Linked DNA regions of Homo sapiens: regions 1 and 3 are each linked to region 2. Evidence: promoter capture Hi-C in human tissues and cell types (Jung and others, 2019). All regions are on one chromosome and are shown on one strand. Each heading gives the region's core, a stretch centred on a gene start or on the middle of the fragment in contact. The rest is flanking DNA. Distances are from core to core; before and after follow the strand shown.

Evidence for each region. Contacts are between HindIII fragments. The study calls those that stand out against the background at their distance.
Region 1: a fragment that was not itself captured here is called in contact with the fragment with the promoter of ZNF600 in region 2 in 2 of the 25 tissues and cell types used here (dorsolateral prefrontal cortex and hippocampus).
Region 3: a fragment that was not itself captured here is called in contact with the fragment with the promoter of ZNF600 in region 2 in 1 of the 25 tissues and cell types used here (dorsolateral prefrontal cortex).

The regions. Positions count from the first base shown.
Region 1 is chr19:53,353,440-53,356,139 of GRCh38, reverse strand. ZNF845 (zinc finger protein 845) reads right to left here. Exons shown (of 4, transcript NM_138374.3): 4 at 1-2,700. The coding sequence ends at 2,552. It also overlaps the pseudogene LOC107987264. Among named protein-coding and RNA genes, the nearest start is that of ZNF525, 11 kb to the left of the region's middle. The HindIII fragment of the contact is 6,579 bases long and covers 1-2,700 here.
Region 2 is chr19:52,785,446-52,788,145 of GRCh38, reverse strand. ZNF600 (zinc finger protein 600) reads left to right here and starts at 1,355. Exons shown (of 6, transcript NM_001321866.4): 1 at 1,355-1,551. RefSeq lists a silencer at 1,197-1,346 and enhancers at 679-1,536, 1,537-2,395. The HindIII fragment of the contact is 28,786 bases long and covers 1-2,700 here.
Region 3 is chr19:52,125,438-52,128,137 of GRCh38, reverse strand. The region is part of intron 2 of ZNF616 (zinc finger protein 616); the gene reads left to right. Among named protein-coding and RNA genes, the nearest start is that of ZNF616, 13 kb to the left of the region's middle. The HindIII fragment of the contact is 6,561 bases long and covers 1-2,700 here.

The DNA of each region.
Region 1 (2,700 bases), core at 169-2,668, 570 kb before region 2:
CGTTATAACAAGTTTATACTGGTTTATTTTGGTACAAAAAGTGTGAAATTTATGCACAAATTTTTCATAATATGTATTTTTCCATGAACTTCTTGAAGACCCTTATACTAGCAAACTGTATTCAAGAGGATATAAAAAGGGATTGTAAACATCCAAGTGCTACCTATTCATGGGATGCAAGGATGGTTCAACATACTCAAATCAATGGGATACACACTTGCACAGAATGACAGATAAAAAACACATTATCTCAATAGATAGAGAAAAAGCATTTCACAGAACTCAATATTCATTCTTCGTAAAAATCCTAAACAATATAGGTAGAGTTTTACCTCAAAAATATAAAAATCATCCATGAAATGACCACAGCTGAAATAACCAATGAAGGAAAATGGAATGGTTTTCCTGTAGGATATCACATGATGCAAGAATGCTCTCACCCCTGATATTCAATAAATACTGGCTGTCCTAGGCAGAGCAATTAAATAGCAAAAGAAATAAAACTCATCCAAATCAGAAAGACAGAAGTAAAATTACATTTGTTGGGGCCGGGCTCATGGCTCACACCCATAATCCCAGCAATTTGCAAGTCCGAAGTGGGCGGATAATGAGGTTAGGCGATCTAACATATTCTTTCAAGTTCTCTTCAAGGTACTCACCATGTTGGCCCACCATCTGGGCCAACATGGTGAAACCCCGTCTTTACTAAAATAAAAAAAATAAATAAATTAGCTAGGTGTGGTGACATGCGCCTGTAGTCCCAGCTACTCAGGAGGCTGAGACAGAATTGCTTGGACGTGGGAGACAGAGGTTGCAGTGAGCAAAGATCATTCCACGGCACTCTAGCCTGGCGACAGAGAGAGACATTGTCTCAAAAAAAAAAATTATTTCCTTGTAGATGATACGACATTCTATATAGAAAATCACTGGCTGGGTGCGGTGGCTCACACCTGTAATCCCAGAACTTTGGGATGCTGATGGGGGCGGATCACCTGAAGTCAGGAGTTCAAGAAAAACCTGGTCAACATGGTGAAACCCCGTCTCTACTAAAAATACAAAAAAATTATACGGACATGGTGGCAGGCACCTGTAATCTCAGTTAGTAGGCAGGAGAATCACTTAAACCCGAAAGGCAGAGGCTGCAGTGAGCCAAGATCGTGCCATTGTACTCCAGTCCAAGTGACAAGAGTGAGACTCCTTCTCAAAAAAAAAGAAAAGAGCCTGGGTAACAGAGTGAGACTGTCTCAAAAAAAAAAGAAAGAAAATCACAAAGAATCAACCAAGATTTTACTGATACTAATAAACCCACTCAATGTATTTGCAGAATACAAAATCAGCACCCAAAATTAGTTGAATTTCCTTACATTAACAATAAATAATGTTTAAAGAAACTTATGAACACACTTCAATTTGCTATGAAACTTAATACTTACAAATAAACTGAATTAAGGAGGTGAGAAGCTTGTACCTTGAAATCTACATTGATCAAAAAAACTAAATAGACATACAACCCATATTGATGGATTGGAAGTCTTAATATTGTTGAATGATTATACAAACAAATGTGATTTAGATTCAACAGATACCCATAAAAACCCGTAACAGTTTTTATTAAAGAAACAAAATACAGGGTGGGAAAAGTGACTCATGTCTGTTGGCCAGTCTGGTCTCAAACTCCTGACCTCAAGTGATCTATTGGTCTTGGCCTCCCAAAGTGCTGGGATTACAGGCGTGAGCCACCCCGCCTGGCCCAATCTTCTTAACATAAACACTTTAATGTCAATTAATGCTTGAACTCAATGTTAAGTCAATTCAAACTCAAGTCAATGCTGAATTGACTCTAATGCCAATTAATGCTTGATGGTTTGCTATACTCATTGCATTTGGAACAATCATCTCAAAAATGAATTTTCTGATGTTCCTTAAGGGGTGATCTCAGACTGAAGACCTTGCCACACTGATGACATTTGTAAGATTTCTGTCCAGTATGGATTCTCTGATGTCTAATTAGGTGTGAACGTGAAGTAAAGGCTTTGCTGCAATCATCATACTTGTGAAGTTTGTCTCCTGTATGAAGTCTCCTGTTTTGCATAAGATGAAGCTAGACTGAAGACCTTGCCACAATCATGACATTTGTAAGGTTTCTCTCCAGCATGAGTTCACCGATGAACTGCAAGGTATGAACAATGTCTGAAAAATTTGCCACATTTATTACACTTTCAAAATCTCTCATTATGGATTCTCCAATGATTTGAAACGGTTGTAGTGTTACTGAAGACTTTGTGATAATCATTACATTAGTAAAGTTTCCCTATACCATGGATTGCCTGATGGTGAATAAGTGTTGACTGCCCACTAAAGGCTTTGCCACACTCAGTACACTTGTAAGGTTTCTCTCCAGTGTGACTTCTAGTTTGTTGGGCCAGGTGTGAATCACGCCCAAGATTCTTGTCACAAACTCTTACATTTGTAAGCTTTCTCTCCAGTATGAATTCTCCTGTCTTTCAAGACTTGATTTACAACTGTAAACTTTGTCACATTCTTCATATTTCTAATGTTTCTTTCCAGTATGAATTCTATGATGACGTGCAAGTTTTGCTTTTCGATTAAAAACCTTGCCACATTCATTACACTTGTAAGGTTTCTCTCCAGTATGAATTGTCTTATGAATTACAAGGACTGAATTGTGACGGAAGGTTT
Region 2 (2,700 bases), core at 106-2,605:
GGAAGAGGCTGCACTGGGCATGGTCCTGGGAAGGGCTCACACCAGAGATGGATGGAGATGGGGTGTGGACCCCAAGGTGTCAGTGATATTGGGCAGCAGGGATTGTTCAGGGGCCACATCTGGATGCACATTTAGCTCTTTGTGGATCAGATCAGAGAATCTATGTATGAAAGTCATACATTAATGTATGCACTGGTATCTGTGTACTGGTATCTGGTAAATTCTGGAAAAGGAGACAAACTAGGGGAGATATTTCTTTTTCTTTTTCTTTTTCTTTTTTTTTTTTGAGACGTAGCCTCGCTCTGTCGCCCAGGCTGGAGTGCAGTGGCACGATCTTGGCTCACTGCACGCTCCGCCTCCCGGGTTCACTCCATTCTCCTGTCTCAGCCTCCCTAGTAGCTGGGATTACAGGCACCCACCACCACGCTTGGCTAATTTTTTTGTATTTTTTAGTAGAGATGGGGTTTCACTGTGTTAGCCAGGATGGTCTCGATCTCCTGACCTCATGATCTGCCCGCCTCAGCCTCCCAAAGTGCTGAGATTACAGGTGTGAGCCAGCGCGCCCGGTCTTGTTTTTGTTTGGGTTAGGCGGGCTCCTGTAGTTCCAGTTACTCGAAAGGCTGAGGCAGGAGAAGGGCGTGAACCCGGGAGGCGGAGCTTGCAGTGAGCCAAAATCGTGCCACTGCACTCCAGCCTGGGCGACACAGCGAGACTCCGTCTCAAAAAAAAAAAAAAAAAAAAAAAGTAAAAGAGCGAGAGAGAGATCAGGAAGAGGACCCTGCAGTTAGGGGGTGTTACTTTGTCGCCCAGGATGGCCTGGACCCCCAGGTTCAGGGATTCTCCCGCCGCTGCTTCCTGAGTAGCTGGGACCTCAGGCTTCCGCCTCGTGCCCGCATCCCTGCTGTGTTTAGGCAGCAGGTGGTGACCTCACTCCTCCCTGGCCTGAGCTCTCCGTCCCGCATCCCAGGCGGAGGCCCTAGGGAACACTTTGAAGCTGAGCACGGGGTGGACCCTCCCTCCTGAGTGAATGGAGAATAGAAAGGGAGAGGATTTCTGTTCTGTTCTGTGGGCCATCAGCATGAAATCGTATGTTCCGCCCTGGCAGGGCTTTGCATTTCACATTCTAGTTTGCATTCCCGTTCCAGATAATTCCAGGGCTTTTGAATCATGCCTCAGCCTTCCTGGCCGCTGTCGCCTCCAAAAACTCGAAAAACAGAGGCGCTGAGTGCGAGGCTGAGAAGCACAGGTCCCGCCCCGGGCCCTCCCTCTGCCGGTTCTAAAGGGCAAGGTCTCTCCGCCTGGGGCCCCGCCTCTACCCCGCCCAGGTCCAGCCAACCTGCCCCGGCCTGGCTTCAGTCCTGGGCGCGCACAAACCCGGAAGCGGATCGCGTGGAGTGAAGGTCCTACCACGGCGCGTGAGTTTTGCTCTGCCTTGGATTAAGTCTGCACTTCCCAGGTCCCCGGCGCTTCTGCCCCTGGGACGTGGGATCCCCACGGACCTGGAAATTCTCGCCTGTCTTCCCTTCACCCAGAGCAAATTGAGACGTCCCGGTAAGAGTCTGGAAGTTGCTTGCTTTTGGGTTTGAAGTCGCTCGGAGGCTGGTCCCGTCCCCGGTCTTTCTGCTATAGGGCAATGTATACACTTCCTATCGCGTATTTTTCCTGCTCAAAACATTTTTCTGACTATTCCCGCCCCGTGCTTTTTAAAGTCCTCACCCGCGAGGTGGATTCCAGCCCTGGGCGCCTCCCAGCCTCGCCCCAGTTGGCACCTGGAGCGCGGCGCCCCGGCCCCAGCCCCGGGGAGGCTGCGTCCTCTGCCTGGTCCTGGGATCCTGCAGGTCCCACCTTTGTCTTAGGGTGCCGTCGCCCACCACGTCCCTCCTGGTGCCGGGCCCTGCTGCTCCCCAAGTCTTCGCTTCCCCTGAGCCAGGGTTGGGGTGGGTCGCAGGGGCTTGTCCTATGATACCAGGTGTTCTTTCCTGTCCAGCTCCACCCCCTGGAAAATGCGCTTCTACGGGATGCAGGCGTCTTACTCCAAACCCGCCTGTGATTACTCCAAACCCGCCTGGGCCAAAGGGATCAGGAGATAGAGAGAGGGACTGAGAGAGCAGTAGAAAACCAGAGACAGAGAAAAGAAGAATGAGAAAGGCCCATAACAGATGGCAAAGTAGAGGATGGGTTAGGAATTTGCCAAGAGACAGCAAAAGTGAAAGAAAAAAAACTAAGAAAGCAGGAGGAGAAAAGCAACTGGAGAAATGTAGAGAAAAGCTAGATGTACAGAAAGATGAAGGACAGCAAGGTAGGGAGAGGGGCAGCAAAGAGGGAGGCTCACCAGAGTGAGGGAGAGGAGGAGGGATTTGGAGCCAGGGCAGACAGAGCAGAGTGGTGCTGGTGGCAAGAACAGATGGAGAACCACAGCAGGGAGGACACCTGGGGATCTGAGGTGCTGGAGAGTGGGGACAGAGGGGTATAACAGGGAAGAGAGAATTTAATAGGGAGAGCAGAGGAGACGGAGAGATAAGAGAAGAGGCTGTAATATATAGACATTGAGGAAGATTGAAAGATTGGGGAGAAAGAACAACAAGAGGTTAAATAAGGACCGGGCGCTGTGGGTCATGCCTGTAATCCCAGCATTTTGGGAGGCTGAGGCGGGTGGATCACCTGAGGTCCGGAGTTCGAGACCAGCCTGATCAACAGGGA
Region 3 (2,700 bases), core at 67-2,566, 660 kb after region 2:
ATTGCACCTTAGGGTAGTGGGAAATCTTGCCAGATCCAGGAAAATAGGAAATGCACCATCCTAAAGAGGCAATCACTCTTTCAGTTACCCAACCTGGAGGAACCCGGGTTTCTTTTCCCTGTCACTTTCTCCATCATCCCTCATGTTTCCGTGGGGAGCTACAGTTGTAAGTTCTGTGGCAAGAGTCAGTGAGAGGTGTCAAGATGCATTTACGTGTCATTATGAGATTTTAGAAAACAATTCTTCAGTACATGTTCTGTTGTGAAATTTCATTGTGCCAGTTTTTCAAAGATACATCTTTTTTTGTTAATAAGCAGTAATAGCTTGTTTTGCATCCTCTTTGGAACAATCTCTAAATGAAGACATATGGATCTTTTATAATTTTTCACCATGGCTGCCACAATGCTCTCTTCACCACAGGTGTTTGAGGGTTCCTTCAGGTTGGACAGTTTAAAGAGTGGTTGCTTCTGTTAGGACGCTATACCACAAAAGCAAAAATAAATAACTGATCTTTCTTTGGAAGGCCTGGCTCGCTGTGTGATTATAAAATACTGTGTTTTTTTAAGATCTAATATTTTGTTGCTTACATTTTATTTGCTTGAATCTTTAATTTGAATTTTTCTGTATATCTTGTTGTAGATTATATTTGATTATAAAGTTTTAGATTATAAATAACATAATAGGTTCACAAGTAGATTGGCAAACCCCTCCATTTTCTTTCCAAAATTATTATGGTTCTCCTTTTACACAACACAGCCACATATTATTTAAATTCCACATATTGGCCGGGTGTGGTGGCTCACACCTGTAATCCAGGCACTTTGGGAGGCCAAGGTGGGTGGATCACCTGAGGTCAGGAGTTCAAGACCAGCCTGGCCAACATGGTGAAACCCTGTCTCTACTGAAAATACAAATATTAGCCGGACATGATGGTGCACGTCTTTAATCTTAGCTACCTGGGAGGCCGAGGCAGGAGAATCCCTTGAACTTGGGAGGTGGAGGTTGCAGTGAGCTGAGATCGTGCCACTGCACTCCTGCCTGGGTGACAGTGAGACTCTGTCTTCTAAAAAAAAAAAAAATTCCCACATATTTTGTTTGTGTTTTCATGGCTCTGAATTTTTTCAGTTGCAGGCCTTTATGTCACCATGTCTTCCAAAAAGAATCGAGTTTGTCAGTCTTTGATAATATCTTTATTATGTCTTTCATTAAAGCTTGTTTGCTTATGTAAAGTTCAGTAATGTTAGATATATTCACATTATTTGTTGGACTCCCAGAATGCATATGTTCTTGGTGCTTGATGGTTTTTCATGGGCCCATTAGACTCTCTTCATTTTCTTTATTTTATTTAATTATTTATTATTTATTTTTTGAGATGGAGTCTCGCTCTGTCGCCCAGGCTGGAGTGCAGTGGCATGATCTCGACTCACTGCAACCTCTGCCTCCTGGGTTCGGGCAATTGTCCTGCCTCAGTCTCCCTGAGTAGCTGGGACTACAGGCACGTGCCACCACACCTGGCTAATTTTTGTATTTTTAGTAGAGACGGGGTTTCACCGTGTTGGCCAGGCTGGTCTTAAACTCCTGACCTCAGGTGATCTGCCTACCTTCGCATTTTCTTTATTTTTGGAGACAGAGTCACACTCTATTGCCGAGGCTGGAGTGCAGGGGTGGGATCTCAGCTCACTGCAACCTCTGCCTCCTGTTCAAGCAATTCTCATGCCTCAGCCTCAGATTACAGGCATGTGCCACCATGCCTGGCTAATTTTTGTATTTTTAGTAGAGATGGGGTTTCATAATGTTGGCCAGGCTGGTCTCGAATTCCTGCTCTGAAGTGATCTTCCTGCCTGGCGTTCTGAAAGTCCTGGGATTACAGTTGTGAGCAATCATGCCCGGCCCACATTTCTTTTTAATTCTTCAAAGCCAAGATGTAAATTGCCATTTCTTTCATGTAGGTTTGTACAGATTCAGTTGGTTTCTTTTTGTAGACCGTATTTCCCTGTTTCTTTGTATGTTTTATTGTCTTCTTTTGTGACTTCAGCATTTGAAAAAATCAGCTGCCTGCCCAGATTTGGTGGCTGCTTTGTTCAGGGAGGACATTCCAATCAACTACCCTAGATTCTGGAGACTTCCCATGCTTTTTCTCTGGGCCTTTGCTTGTCATCTCCCTATTGAAGAGGTTTGCTGCTTTCTACTCAGAAGCTCCCCTATTTTCTGTACTATTGTGGATAGACTCTGGTACTGCAGATATCTGTGGTACTAGATCTTCACCCTCATGTCTTTCTGTGTTATTGCAGACACCGGTTTACGTCAGTTATCTTTTTGCTCAGTGGCCCCTAACCTTTCATCCTGTTCCTTTCAGTGCTACCACAGGAGGTCACCACTAAGGCAATTCTCAGCCTAGCCATGGAGGCAGGGACACCTTAGAGAGTGCTTATTAGGGCAAGGTCAAGGGGAGCCCTGGAAGCAGGACCACGCCTGAGACCCCAGAACTGTAGAGTCACCAGTATGTGATCCCAGCTCGGGAAACCACAGCCTGTGAGAAGTTCCATGTGGGTGATCCCAACAAAACTAATGGGGCAGGGATCCCCAGGACACTGGGGACCTAACTCCTACTCCAGGATGTCTAGAAGGTGGGACATAGAGTCAAAGAAGATTATTGTCAAGCCTTAAGATTTAATATGTGTGCCCTATTTGAGTTTCAGA